Regions from separate parts of the Homo sapiens genome. Here all the other regions are linked to region 1. Evidence: promoter capture Hi-C in 16 types of primary human blood cells and fetal thymus (Javierre and others, 2016). All regions are on one chromosome and are shown on one strand. Each heading gives the region's core, a stretch centred on a gene start or on the middle of the fragment in contact. The rest is flanking DNA. Distances are from core to core; before and after follow the strand shown.

Region 1 (5,086 bases), core at 1-2,500:
AGGCGGAGTGGGGAGGAGGGAGCCCTCCGGAGTTCGGGAGCAGCACGTTGTGAGGGTCCACACAAGGGTGATGCCAGACCGAACACCATTAGGGCCTGGGTGTGAGTGTGACTCGGAGGCACCTGGGGGCCGTTGTAGGGCCGGGAAAAGCCAGGAACTGGCTGGAGCAGCACCCCAGCATCCCAGGGACCAAAGTCTGGGGGATTTGCATGTCTGAGGTTGCACTTGTGGGAAGACTTTTTGGAACCACTTAATCTCTGTGGCTCTGTGTAAGACCCGCGAAATAAAAAGAGGCAGTAGTACTCTTTGGAAGATTGTTTTAGGGATTAAATGAATAAAAAGCGTTTAGAACACTGCAGGACGCATTGTAGGCGCTGTATGGGTTTATGAAACCGAATATAAACAAATAAGCACGTCCCCCACCCAGCCAACGGCTTTGGGGGCCCCGTTCTGGCCAGTCCTGAGCCCCTCCACACGGCCCACGGCGGGCTGCGGGTCTCCCATCCGAGGAGGGTGCCGCTTTTCTGCCCCCGCTCCCTGGGTTCTGCGCCCAGCGCCATCCCGTGCGCCCCCGACCCTTGGGCATGGGGCACATGCCGCGGGGAGCCGCCAGGGAGACCCCAGAGGAGCGCGCCGCGGGCCGGCTTCCCCGGATGCCCCACCCACCTCCTCTTGGCGCTGCCCACCACCTGCCTCGGCTGCTCGGCCCCCGGCTCGCGAGGCTGCGCCCCCGACCCAGTCGGCGCCCACTCCTCGCCCTGCGGGCTCGCGGCAACTGGGCGGCCGGCCCGGCCCCTGCCCACCCCCAGCCCAGCCCGGCGCGCCGCACTGGGCATGCTCCGTAGCCTGGGCAGGTTGGGGCTGCGAGGCGACAGCTCGGGCTCTGGAGCCGGGAGGCGAGAACGAGGAGGGAGGCTCGGGGGCAGGGGAGGAGGAAGCGGCTGGCCGCTGAGGGGCGGCGGGGCCCGGAGCGGGGGACGCGCAGGGCCCGGCGGTGGGCGGGCGGGTCGGCGCTGCCCCGTGGGCTCGCTGGGGAGCCACGGCGGAGACCCCCGCCCTCAACTGAGGTAAGGACCGCGCGGCGCGGAGACGGGGAGGCGGGGAGGCCAGGGAGGGGGTGCGGAGGCAGGCGGGAGGGCGGGACTGGGGTGCGCCGGGAGGGGGCTTGGCGGCGGCTCTTTATGGCGAGGAGGGGGTGGTGGCGCCGCGCCGGGAGCAGTAAGTGAGCTGCACCGCCAACAAGATCTCTCACACACAGACACACACACGCACACGCACACACGGGCGCGCACACACACGCGCGTACACACTGGGTCTCCAGGCAGCGGCCGTCGCCGCATCCCCGGCAGCAGCTCCAGGCAAAGTGACAGGTAGGAAAAGGCATTTCGGGTCCCGCCCGAGGATGCTCCCGCCCGCCTTGGCCCTCAGGGCTTGTTTGCTTTCCGCGGGTGCGTCCCGGACGCGCGCGCGCGCGCACCCGGATGCCCAGCGGGGACCCCGTGCAGGTGCCGGGTGCCAGGCGCCCTGTGCGCGCGGGAGGCAGGGGACCCAGACGCCATCCCCCTTCCCCTGCAGTCATCGCCTGCTGGGTTTCCTCAGACTCTCTCCAGACGTTCACCCTCTTCTGGGCTAGAAATAGCTCGGCTCGACGTGTATATGATTATTTTGGTTGGAAATAGTTGGCACCGTGCAACGCATGTAAATGTGTATGCGTGTGGATCTTCTTGCCTCTTCTGGGGAAATCATAGAAATGATTGACCGTTTCCACTTAAAACAACACTGACAGGCTTAGCACTCATTGGGGGCAGGGTTCGGGCCTCCTAAAAGCCTGTTAGTGAAGGAAATCCTTATTTTCAGAATTTTAAAGTTGCTTTTGCTTTAACCAATTAGACTCTGTATAGTACAATACTTCTGAGTGTAGACTTCGTATATGGTACTGAATCGAAGTATGGAAATATGGAATTCTCTAATTTCCAAGTGTGTTTAAGTGCAACTTTATCTAGAATCATAAAACTAGCATTTTCCTAGAGAGAAATACAACTGCCCACTATAGTTTCCATAAATATGGATATATCTGAAAGATGACCCTACTCTTCCAACTTTTTTTCCTCTTAACTTCTGTAGTGATTCTAGCTATTGTTCTAAAACATGTATTTGAAATTTAATTTTGGCCAGAATATTCAGGAAAGGTGTTTTTTTTTCCATATACGTAATACTTAGTGGTCTATATATTTAAGTTATAGGTATGTGGAGATAGCTGTTTAATAATTCTTTTTGTCTGGAAATAACGTTATTCAAACATAGGCAGCTATGTATCATTTTAAAATGATATTGAATTTCCCCTTAAAGAGAAATCAGATTTATAATGTAAACATGACCAGGAAAAGCAACTGGTGACTTTACCTGGGGAGGCTCCAAGGAGGTTAAGAAAGTATCTGAACAACTGTGTTTTTCAGAATAGAAAAATTGTGTGTGTGTTGCGGGGGAAGGTAAAATTTTAACTTTATTCTTTTATTGTTTTCAAGACGGCTGTTTTCAGAAATGTGTGGTTGAACTGAGACCCTCATATTTTATACTCTTCAAATTTGAGTGGCCTCAGTTATAGAATCATACAGAAGATCAAAAGTCTAGCTCAGCAGGGGCATGTGGTGTAATCCCTCACTATCTGTGTTATGTAATCCAGAATGCTGTTTTTCATAGGACAGTCTTGCATGATCCTTAGCTGGTGTATTGATCTATTATATCATCTTCCTTTTGAACTGTAGTAGTTTAATAAATGATTGCCATCTTTGGAGAGCACCTGTTTTCATAAAAAATCACTTTTTGAAATGGCAAAACATTTTTATTGGCACTTTTATGAACGTAAGACTTGCTGCCAGACGAGTAACCTTTTGAATGTGACGTATTATAACATATCTAAAGGTACCATGTATTAGCTTATGGACTACACTTCCTTCCAACTATATTATTACTCAACAGTTGGAACTTAGTTTTGATGGTATTACTACCCAGCTCTGAATTAATCGCTGTTGAAAATGCTGTTCTACAAGTAACTGTCAAAACAGAATTTCTAACTCCATTTGATCACTGGGTGCACATTTAAATCTGTCGGAATAACTCTACCTTTATTTTGCAAATGCATACCCACGCAGAAAGCTTTGTTCTAAAATACTCTATTGGAAGTTTTATATTTATATGCCTGAAAATGTGAGTGATGTTAAACTGCTTACATGTCCTGGAATCGTGAGGCGGTGTGTTTTTGCCTTATGAGATAAAGAAATATGGTAGTTGAAAAAGTGTTACAGGTTACCAAAAACCTTTTGCAGGAAAAGATTTTAAAAATTTGTATCACCTCTGAAATATTTCAACCACAGCAGAGTCCATTCAGTGCCCGTAGCACAGCTAGTTTGCCTTTCCCAAGATTACACACAACTGTCTTTAGATTAATGTATACTGCTGACTTTGGCAACATGGGACAGTTATATTTGGCAATTTCAGTAAACATGGTATTTTCCTAAGATACCACTAACTTCATTTTGGGGTTTGATTTATTAAGAATTGAAATGTTTGCCTGGTATTCATCTTTACCTCACCCTCTAAGTAAAATTGAGGTAAAAGTGAGCTTCAGGGCTGCTGTGCTGTTTTCCTTGTGATCACATTAGCATGCTAATTTGTGAAAGGATGTAACAATATAAGTGAAATTAGCTTCTGAGTTTAGTGTCTGAATTTTCATCCCCAGTTTTTCAGATGTAGCTGGAAAACTCAAATAACAGAATTAATGAAAAAATTTTGCAGATTATTAAAAAAAATTAGTAATTAGCTGAGTTTGATTTTTTATTTTGAAATCTTGAGAGTAAATTTTATCTTTTCGGATTAGAGCACTTAGGTAATGTAAGAAAGATTTTGGATTTCTCATGCTCTCCACACTTAATAGTAAACTATTTTTGAGGAAGTATAAATTTTCTTTGAAACTTAAAATTATTTAGCAGGCTGTGACTAAATTTTTGTTTGTGATCACTTATAAAGTAAGGGTGAAACAGCATGTTGATTAGCACCGCCGACCCAGGTCTTTTAATAAACTGTCTATCTACCACAGTTGAGTCCCTGTAAAACCAAGAACTTCTGTATTTGATATGCAAAATTAGGTCAAGGACTAATGGAGATGCTTTAATGATCACAGTTGGTATTTTATGTCCAGATTGAAGTTTTTAAAATAGTTGCTTTTCACCTCATAATATATGAATGTGTAGGCCATATTAGTGTCTGTCAAGGAGACTTATCTGCCTGTTGGGAAATAAATACAGCTTTTCATCGCTGGTGGGAGGCAGCAGTGACTTTCTGTGGTTTTGCTGTTGGTTTTCAGATGTGAACTGTGTTTGCAAGGACACTGCTTAATTCTCAGTGCTGTCCATTCCACATTTTCCTATTTCCCTCTCATATTGGGAAAATGAATAAACTTGTGTAGCTCTTTCTTCTATTCCTTAGTATTTGTTTGTTTAATAGTTTTGCTTTTGATAAAGCCTCACCCTTTAAAGTAGAAATACTTTCTCAAATTGTAATATTATTTATCTAGTTATGCCTTAGAATGATATAAAGGTTTTACATGTTCCTAGGCTGTGATTCTTTAGCTAACCAAGTATAAAAATGAGTTTACTTCCTTGCCAGTGGAGGCAGACCTGGGTGATTATGCATTACTGAGTGGATGAGTGTGATGTTTACATTGTCTTGGTTGGAATTAAGCTTGCTTTGAAAATATCACCCTGGAATAACTTTTATTTGCAAGGCCCACTTCACTCCTTTGCAGCAACCACTCCCAAACCCCATTTTCTGGGTGGAAGGGTAGAAAGAGTCTGGGTGGAAGCTCACGACTTTGGATGCTTTTTTATGCTGAAGGCGTAACCCAAGTTTCTAGAGGAGATGAAAGTAATAATGCTGTACCTTTCAAATCTCAGCTAGGAGATCCTTATGTTCCAGGGAATGAATGACCAGCAGAGTGTTTATTTTCCCTGCATGCACTTCGTCTACTTTTCCTTTCCTTTATCAAATAAAAATAGTTGAAATGGACATAAATCCAAGGTTTTTCTCT
Region 2 (5,086 bases), core at 1,508-4,007, 100 kb after region 1:
AATGCATTGAGTTTGATTTGCATCTTGAACCTGAGTCTTCTGTGGCATCCTCTGCCCAATCTGGCTTGCAGGTGCTCCACTTTAGCTCCCTGTGAATTTAAATATAGAAACTTTATTTGTGAGGAGCTGCTTCCTTCCTCTCACTTAACACACAATTTTCCAATGTAATAATCCAGTTTTGGGCATTTGATTTTCATAAAAACTTTCCATGTCTCAGCTTGTGAGATATGTGTCTTGAGTTCTCAATGTAAACACTTTGCCAGTCTGTAATTCCAGCACTCTGGGAGGCCGAAGCAGGAAGATTACTTGAGGTCAGGAGTTTGAGACCAGCCAGGCCAACATGGTGAAACCCCATCTCTTAAAAAAAAAAAAAAAAATTAGCCCGGCGTGGTGGTGCACACCTGTAATCCCAACTACTCTGGAGGCTGAGGCAGGAGAATCGCTTGAAACGGGAGGCAGAGGTTGCAGTAAGCTGAGACCGTGCCACTGCGCTCCAGCCTGGGTGACGGAGCAAGACTGTCTAATAAATAAATAAATAAATAAATAAATAAATAAATAAATACTCTGCCAGGGTTCTAGATACCATGTGAATTGAACTCCTGAAGGGAAGGAAGTGGGCAGTGGGGTGTTGGTGTGATACTCCAAATTCTTCAGTGATTCCTTCCCATTGTACTTTCCTCCACAACATTGTTTGTGAAAATTTCAAACATATAGTAATTTGAAAGAATTTTACAATGAACAGCTGTGTATTCACCTCCTAGATTCTACCATGAACACTTTATTGCCTTTATTATCTGTCCATCCACTTATCCCTCTGTCTTTCACTGTCTTATTTTTGATGGATTTAAAAATAAACTGCAGGCATAGTTTGTATATTCCAGCATGCTTATTATTAACTGGAGTTCAATATTTCTTATCAGTTATTCATACGAAATTTCTATTCGATGAAATGCACACATCCTTACTTGTACATAGCTTGAACTTTCAACAAGTGGACGCACCCAGATAAATCAGTCCTGGCAAGATATAGAACATTACCACCACCGGAGAAAGTTCCTGCATTCCTTCCCCAACCTTTACGTTCTTTTTTGAGTCTCTCCAAAGAAGGATTTACTGATTGCAAGTGATCTGTGGTTAGTTTATTTCTTCAAAATTGTGCTTTGATCAGTTTTATTTCATGCAAGTTACTTTCATACTTAGGAATGCATGTTGTACAACACTTTCTTACAAATTAATATTTAGTTTGTTAGGACTAATTTATTTCTGACAGAACTAAAGTTTTAACAAGAGTAGCTTAGATTATCTGTTTTTTACTTGGTACAGATGTTTTCCAATGACTTTATTGATTCTTATCATGTTTTATGAGATGGCTGGTGAGATAACATAAATAGAGATGCAAAGACATGGAGGTAAACCATGTTCTGAGAGGTTCTTTGGGCTGACACACCTGGTTTCTCTGGATATAAAGAAAAAAAACTCCTCTTTCAGGCAGCTGTTTCCTACGAAGATTGTGTTTGAGGATACAGTAACCTCATCATTTAGCCTGAAATATAAGTTGGTTCACACTGCTTCTTCAGAAACAGAAAGCTCTATCCTTGTAATAATGATAATTCATGACATTCCATGTTTGTGGGCAGTAGTTTCAGTCAGCTTTACCTTCAGGTACCTAACAAGGTCTGGGGTTGATTTGGATCTGCCCTGATGTGGGTTCACAGAGTCGGTAAAACCTCAGCTATCCAGAAAGCTAATTGTCTGAATTGCCAGACTCTCAAAATGGCCTGGAGGCAGAAAGTTAAAATGTACCACAATCTCTTTGGTCATGAAGAAGCAGTTTTTGAATATCTAACATAGCGGTAGGGATATGGTCAAAATGAATGAGTTATACCAGCACCATAAAGTTGTTTAGGGGCTGTAAAGTGCTCACATTGAGTTCTTTGACGGTACCATGAAACTCCCATTTTTGGTTTGCTCCTTTTCACAAATCACTACTTCAGTGGAATATGAGACTCATCTCTGAAAACTCACACAGCTCCTTAAGCTCTTATTCACACCTTGACATAGTTTTTTTGTGTGTGTGTGAATATGATTTATAAACGATGGGTTTATTCAGGTATTTTCTGTAAGAAATCCACATTGTATAACTTGGAGTTACCTATCATATGGTAGGCGCTCAGAAGCTTCTTTTACAGTCCCCTTTAGAATGCTACAAAGAAATATGTAGTGATTTTCAAAGGTACATCATTTAGTAGACAGTTTACGTTTCCTTGCTCACAAAAGAATGCAAGAGAATATTCCAGTAGTTTCAAAAAGTACAGTATGCAATCCTTAGAACCAAACTGCACAAATATTCAGCAGCTGTCTATTCAAAAATTAAAACCAGAGACCATATTTTGTTAGGGCTAATGTATAGTTGTCAAACTATAGACCAGAACAACAAGAATCTGTATGTGCATATTTATTCTAATCTTGTTTTCCAAGTTACTTAATTTATAGTTGCTTTTCTCTGAGAGGAAAGGACAGAACAAGTATTGCAAACACTTGCTACAGTCAGTTTTGGCAAAAAAATAACTCAGAGAGCCATGTTTTAAGAAAAATAAATTCAGGTTATAAATTTAAGCATCATTCTACTGGGTTGCAACAGTATCTGAGACTTCTACTTTGAATATTTCATCTGATGATGTAATTGGAGGCGGCAGAAGCATATTATCTGCATTTATTTGTGCAGTTGTGTATTATGTAAGTGGAGAATTGTGGGAAATAATGACTATTTCCCCCCTCCTCATAATTTTAAGCCTCAATGGAATGGAAAGAAATATCAATCGATCTTCCATATTTGGCAGAGTGCTTGCAGAGGCCACTGTCTCTGCAAACATGATAAACCTCATTTTCCCCTTCCCCTGTCAACTTGTCAAGAACAGAATTAACAGGAGGATTATATTAAGGCAAAATAATTTGGGGTTTTCTGTTTTGTTTTTGTCTTTGTTTTTAAAAGTTACTTCCATGTGTCTGGCCATGTTTCAGTAATAATGTTTGGCACTTTAATAATTCCTTTCATCTGCAAAGAGCAAATTGTTTTTCTGAAATAATTTCATTTTGTAGAATGACTCCATAGAGCAGGTTGACCCCATCCATGATCTAGAATATAAGAATTCATCATATAACAAAGGACCACCATTTAATGCCAGTTTTAGTATGTTTTCAGCTTCAACTAAAAACTTAAGATTCCATAATAAGAGAGAAGTCACCAAGCCAATTCCCTGTTGAGTGGAATATCTTACTCATTTTCTACATACATCCTACCTATCCTTGAAAGTTAAGCATAAAACCTCACCTTGCTGAAGCTTTCCTCACTGCTATAAGTCAAATCCCTGTCCATCTCTCCCTTTCCTGAGTGCATATTGCATTGGCTTATAAACCTTTTGGTGTTACTCTCCTGTGTAGATAAAGACTGTTAATTACTCTCTAATTATATTTTATGTATTAGTCTTCCCATGTCTTCCAATGTAAGTCCTCTTTGCAGAAACACCATCTTAACACTTATTTTGCATTTCCATTCGCATTTCCTTTTCTTGTTTAGTGTTTTGGAAAACTGTCATTTAATAAATATTGTTGGCCGAGTGCCTGAATGTTAAGAGAGGCCACTGTCTCTGCAAACATGATAAACCTCATTTTCCCCTTCCCCTGTCAACTCGCCCTAAGAACAGAATTAACAGGAGGATTATATTAAGGCAAAATAATCTGGGGTTTTCTGTTTTGTTTTTGTCTTTGTTTTTAAAAGTTACTTCCATATGTCTGGCCATGTTTCAGTAATAATGTTTGGCACTTTAATAATTCCTGTTATCTGCAAAGAGCAAATTGTTTTTCTGAAATAATTTCATTTTGTAGAATGACTCCATAGTGCAGGTTGACCCCATCCATGATCTAGAATATAAGAAAAATCTCACTCTGAAGTTCAGTTTCCAAAGACTTGGGAACAGATGATGAACTATGCTTTGCTTGCAGTGCCTCCTGGCTGTAAATATAGGAGCTCTGTCAACTGCTGAACTCTTGGTTGGCCTTGCAAAGCTTTGGTGTGGTCTGTGGTCTGGGGTGTAGCGTTGAGCCAGTAAAAGGCATTGCATTGTTTTATCCATCCTGTGTCCTTAGTTAGATGCATCGCATGATTGGACCTACTCAATAAGAAAATAAAGAGCAGTAGTCAATGTTTTGACCATACTTTTGGTCCTGCACAGTGTTACTAGTTGCCAACTTTATGCAAACAGATTTACCTCATCTCCTGATAAATTAGAAGATCTGGCCACATGCAGACTTGTGTTCTTCCTTTAGAGGAGACACACGCTCTCCAGTTCCACCCAGCATCCCAAGACATCTGAATTAGTTTCCTGTTGTTGCTGCTGTAACAAACTGCCGTAAACTTAGTGGCTTAAAGCACAGATTTATTATCTTACACTTCTTGATGTTGGTAGTCAAATAGGCCTGCAGGACCGTGTTTTTTCTGGAGGTTCTGGGGGAGATAATGTATTCCTTGCCTTGTCCAGCTTCTTGAAGTTGTGCACATCCCGTGACTATGGCTGAATCCCTCTGAACTCTGTTTCTATTGTCACATGTCTTTCTTTGATCCTTCTTCCTCTCTCTTTCATTTTTAAAGGATTTTTGTGATTACATTGAGCCCACTCAGATAATACAGTCACCTCTCTATCTCAAGATCCTTAATTTAATCTTGTCTGCAAAGCCCCCTTTGCTGTGTAAGGTGACTATTCACAGGTTCCATGTTCCACACCCCAAATTCACTTCCCCACTTCCACCTTCAGGGAAGCATCTAATTCCTTCAGGCTGTGACCTCTACAGTGCTGAGGAACTGGCACTGATTTCTATTTCCCTGGAGTTGGATATTTATCCACCAAATAAGATGAGAATATTTATTTAAAAAACTGATTCTCCCCCTTCACAAATTACCGTATCTAGGTATATCTTATTTTTAAATGCTATATTAAATAATCGCACAAAAATAAAACAACTCTCCTTTATTTCTTGGCTTGGTTTTGCTGCTACTGCTGCTGCTTCTTGTTTTGTTTTGTTTTGTTTT
Region 3 (5,086 bases), core at 947-3,446, 77 kb after region 1:
ATCTTTAAGGTTGATGTCTGGGAGAACCAACTACTGTGTTTCCTGGTATGACCATTGATGTGTTTGTTGATAGATACAACTAATGGCTAGGTTCTTGCTTGTACTTTTATGTGGGACTTTTTAAAAGAGTTCAAACAATAGGGAAATATGACACAAAGGAACCTGAAAAACATAAGCAGCAGATTACACCTTTGCTTAACTTTAAGGTTAAAACAATCCATAGAAAATTGTTTTGGATTTTTCTAGCTAGTGAAAATACTATACAGCCCTTTGCAGATATAGTATCTAAGGGGTTTAAAGAAAGTTAAAGGCTGGTGTGGTGGCTCAGGAGTCCAAGGCTGGAGGATTGCTTAAGCCCAGGAGTTCAAGACCAGCTTGAGCAACAAAATGAGACCTAATCTCTACAAAAGAAAAAAAGAAAAGAAGAAGAAGAAAGAAGGAGGAGGAGGAGGGGGAAGGAGGGGGAGGAGGGGAAGGAGGGGAAGAAGGGGAAGAAGGGGAAGGAGGGGAAGGAGGGGAAGGAGGGGAAGGAGGGGAAGGAGGGGAATGAGGGGGAGGAGGGGTAGGAGGAGAAGGAGAAGGAAGTTCAAATAAAATTAAGTCCCAGAGAACAAGGCCATACACATACGCAGCCAAAAGATCATTCATGTAACATTGCCTAAGACTTCTCCATGGTGTCAGTTAGGAGGATGTTTAAAATCAGTGGCAGAGCTATTTTCCTAGCTCTGCCTAAAAGTGCCGGAGGTATATTGTGTTTTCAGTCTGGGATCCAAAGCCATGTGAGAAGAAACATCAGAGATGAAGGCTTTTTTGGTTTTAAACCATCTTAGCTGTGTTTGCACTCATTTCTGTCCTCATTAAAGAGGACAACTGGGGTAACTGAGATAGTGAAATGTATCCAAGGTGAAAGTGAGTGAAAACAAAAATATTTCTCCAGTATGTTTTTGTGATGAGAAGCAGGAAATCTGAACCACTGAGCTCTTAAGAAAGTCCTTCACTGCACCTTTGTTTCCTGTGTCAAAGAGGCCACATTCATTACATAGCACAATTCTTGGAGTGAATCCTTCACTCTCAACAAATGAGTTAAAATGTTTTTCTCTAAAAAATAAAAGATGCATCTTCAGCAAATTTTATTTTTATTAGGAAAAGCCACTACTGCATCCTACTTTTATTCTGGGTGTGTTTTATATTTTTGACAAGTGCTCTCACATCAAAAAAATGTGTCTACATTAATTCAAAATTCATAATGATCACTCTTATCCTGCTGATACAATTATCAAAGTTCTTTTTTTTTTTTGGTCTTCTTTCCCCTGCTGTTGCCTAGTGTTTGTAATTATCTTTTCTTGAGGTTGGGCAGGGGAGAGGATAGGGAGAGAATGTTCAGCAAAAATCAGTCATATATTTAGTGTGGCTTCCCATTCGTTCATTTCATCTTCCATCTATCCATTTATCTTTCCATTCACGCACCCAACCATGCAATATTCATTGATCATCTGTGAGCCACCTAAATTGGAATAGCAAGGATCTCTCCTATCAAAGAGTCTAGAATAAATGCCAGGCATTTACAGTGGGAAAATGTTAATATCAGGTAAATTCTGTCTTGGGGAGAGGTCTTGTGACCTGTTTTTGGGGGTTTTAGGGAAAGCTTCCAGGAAGCAGTACTGTCTCAACTGATACATAAAGGGCAAATTGAAGTTAGCTGGAAGAACTGCATGTTTGGGCTAGAGTGTGGTTAAGCAATGAGGAAGAATTTCCAGCAGAAGAAACTCCATGTTCTAGAGGTCATATTTTATGTGAGGGTTGTATTTCTAAAGTTCTTGCAAATTTGGAACTCCCATGATTCAAAATAATTCTGTCAAAAGATGGTGGATATTTTCATTTACCAGCTAACATGGCCCTGTGGCCACTCTGTAAACAGAGTTTAGAGTTTCCTCTGCCCCAGCCAGCATCAAAACTACAATTCTTGAAGAATTGTTTCGGTGGGGGTGCCTACATAGATCCAAATTAATGTGAGACAATATTAGTGCTTTTGTATCACCTTATTTCAAAGCTGCATGATTCAGGTTCACCTCAAATATGACCAAACTCTGGAGTTTCAGAGCAGTAGCTCATGGCCCATTTGATGGTATTAAAAGTAGATCAGGATGGATAGCATGTACACACAAGACTAGGGGTGAGGGAGAAAGGAGATAAAATGGATAAGGAATCAGGGACCAGGTCAGTGAAGGCTTGTAAACTGTGTTAAAAGGTAAAATAGTCACATTAACATTTTAAAGAATTTATTCGTGTAGATAGTAATTCATGAATTGGGCAGCATCAGGTAGTAAGTGGTTCAGGGCTCCGCTGAAAGGGCACAAGGGGAACATTTTTATAAGGTGTTCTAGGAAGCAAGACAAAAGTATTTGGTTAAAGTGGAAAGTCCCTAGTTAGAGGTTAATTGGTAGTTTCTGACTCTTTACATGGTATTTTGACTCACATTGATTAGGTTTTGGTTTACTTACTTAGGAACCCAAGGTGCCGGAGCCATCTCAGCCTGATGGCTTCTCAGTTAGTTTTTAAAAGCAATTATAATAAGAGGATGGCAATGGGGAGCCTCTGAAGAATGCTGAGGAAGGAATTGGCGAGGTCAGCATTATGCTTTTGTTTAAGTGTAAATAGAAGAGAGCTGAAATTAGACCATATGTGGATTTCAGATATTTTTGGAACATTTATCTTTTATTTCTTATTAAACTTTGCTTATAAACAATGTAAGCTTTTGTGATATCAAAGTCCTCCTCTTAAGGTGTTTTGTTAATTTGCTTTTGAAGAGTCCACTAATCATCTTGTGAGAGAAAATAAAAGACGTGGCCTGATTGGCAAAAAGATTGGATAGAGGTTCAACCCAGAATTGGGGTCTAAGGCTAGGGGAGAATCCGATTAGGGAATCATACTTGGAGGTCTATGGTAAAATAGGTTGTGGGAAATATGGGTTAGACAAAGTTAAATAGACTTCTTTATTGTGGGGCTTCTAGATCCTTAAAGACATTAATGTATGTTAAGGTGCATAGGATGTCATCAACTTGTTTCACAACTAAGGAACCTTTGTTCCAAAAGTAGTCATTACAGTCTGGCTAAGGACTAGTATTCCAAGGAATATGTATCCGTTTCCTTTTGCCACAATAATGCTGCATAATAAGCAACCACAAAACTGCAGTGGAATAGAATAACATATATGTATTTAGCCTGTAAGTTTCGGGGGGTTCAGCTGCTCAATGCTTGACTGATTTCAGCTGATCTCATTCATGTGTCTGTGCTCAGCTATGGGTTGGGCAGGCAGCGCTGGGTTAGTTCATATGTCTAGGGGCTCAGCTAGCTGTTAGCTGACCTAGGGTGGCATAGCTAACATCTATGCTAGATCAGGGTGACTCATCCCTGCTAAATATGTGTCTCATCCTAAGATACTAGACCTAGCATATACTCCTGGCTATGGCAGAGGAGCAAGAATGAGAACAAACTCAGTTGTGCAAGCACTTTTCAAGCCTTTCTTTGCATCATGTGTGCTAATATTTCCATTGGCCAAAGGAAGTCACACAGCCAATTCTAGAGTGAGAATGGCACCACAAAGTTACGTAGCCGAGACTGTGGTTACAGGGAGGGAGAATTGTGCTCTTTTTGCAGTCAGACTATCCTAGATCCCAACTTAGAAATTGCAGGATGAGATTACAGTCAATTGAGCAAGGAATGAGGTCAGACTTTTCTCCATGCCATGGCCACAGGACTGTACTTTTGATACTGATAAGCAGCCTCACAAATAGATGTCTGAGCCATGTCAAGGAAGAGAGAGTTCATCTGGGTCTGCACAGGTCTTTATTGTTTTTCTATGGAATTATTTCATTGAAGGCTGAAAGGATTGTGGACATCATCTAGTTCTAGTTGCATCGTGTTGGCAGTCGTGAAGGAGACAGTCCCAGAGAGGTTAATTGGGCTCCTTCAATCCAAACAGCTATCTAGAAGCAAATCTGGGCCTTGAACCCAGATTCTCAAGCCAATTGAGTTTTAATTACCTCAAAGAAGCTTTGTTGTGGGGTGGAAGGGACTGAAATGTATTTGCAATCTTTATATAGGAACAAATCACATTCCTCCTGGAGGAAATGAAATATAAATGATTTTTGAAATAGGAAGAATAGAGAGTAGTCATGCCTTGTTAGATGTCTCACAAAGGGCAAAGGGTAAGGATAGTTAAGCATTGAGTGATTACTGAAATACTGTGGCTGGAGATCCTTGGTAATAGAGTTTCGTTTTCAGATTTTTTTTTCTCCTGTCTCTTCCCTCGCCCCAAGAATTTCTCCTGCATCAGGGAAGTCAACAGAGGACTTCTGAGCGGAGAGTAAGAATTTGTGTTCTAGCTCCTTCTTTATCAAACAGAAGATACAATTGTGAAGGCAGACCCAGCCTTCTAGAATAGCTGGCACATTAACACCTAACTTACCTGACATTGGTAGGGAACAATCTGTGCTACATAAGTAAAATTTTGATAATGAAATCCTAACCATTTAGCACTGTCAAAGTAGCTGTTTTCGTGATGGAAATATTTCTGGTCCAACAGATGTGTTTCCCTGATTTAATAAACAGAATAATTGAAACTTCCAGCCTCATCCTTTTAGACATCAGTTATTGAACTGTGCAGTAATATAGAAACATGCCTTGTAAAGAGCCATGTAAGTGTAAGGTGTTGTTATTGTTTGCTTGGGTTTCTGGAGTATGTGGGCCACTTGGCTTTAGACAGATCTGCTTTCTAAATTCTTGTATTCCTTGTTTGTTTTCAGAGGGTTCCCTTGCCCTCTGGCCTCCAGGTAGGTGTAGCCAACAGGAAGCACTGGTGGAAAACTGGAGGGCCAGAAGAGAGAGAGGTCAGGGTGCCTTTCTCTGCCTCTCTGCTTTCTTTGGTATCTCTAGGAACACATGTGTCTCTTCCATGTGTCTCTTCCAATCAGCTCTCACCAGACTCCCCTTTTCTCCACAGCAGCCTGATCTCCACGGCTGTTGCCCTGGTCTCTGTCAGTTGGCTCTAGCCTCTAGGCTCTGATAACGTCACATCCTTCCATTA

The links. The method cuts DNA at HindIII sites, captures the fragments that hold promoters and counts their contacts. A CHiCAGO score of 5 or more calls a contact.
Region 2: a contact is called between a fragment that was not itself captured here and the fragment with the promoter of PLCB4 in region 1, in 1 of 17 cell types (megakaryocytes). The highest score is 10.0, in megakaryocytes.
Region 3: a contact is called between a fragment that was not itself captured here and the fragment with the promoter of PLCB4 in region 1, in 1 of 17 cell types (megakaryocytes). The highest score is 5.7, in megakaryocytes.

What each region holds. Positions count from the first base shown.
Region 1 is chr20:9,067,837-9,072,922 of GRCh38, forward strand. PLCB4 (phospholipase C beta 4) reads left to right here and starts at 1,251. Exons shown (of 40, transcript NM_001377142.1): 1 at 1,251-1,370. The HindIII fragment of the contact is 10,687 bases long and covers 1-3,154 here.
Region 2 is chr20:9,169,064-9,174,149 of GRCh38, forward strand. All of the region lies in intron 2 of PLCB4 (phospholipase C beta 4), which reads left to right. Among named protein-coding and RNA genes, the nearest start is that of PLCB4, 100 kb to the left of the region's middle. The HindIII fragment of the contact is 1,164 bases long and covers 2,176-3,339 here.
Region 3 is chr20:9,144,225-9,149,310 of GRCh38, forward strand. All of the region lies in intron 2 of PLCB4 (phospholipase C beta 4), which reads left to right. Among named protein-coding and RNA genes, the nearest start is that of PLCB4, 78 kb to the left of the region's middle. The HindIII fragment of the contact is 1,107 bases long and covers 1,644-2,750 here.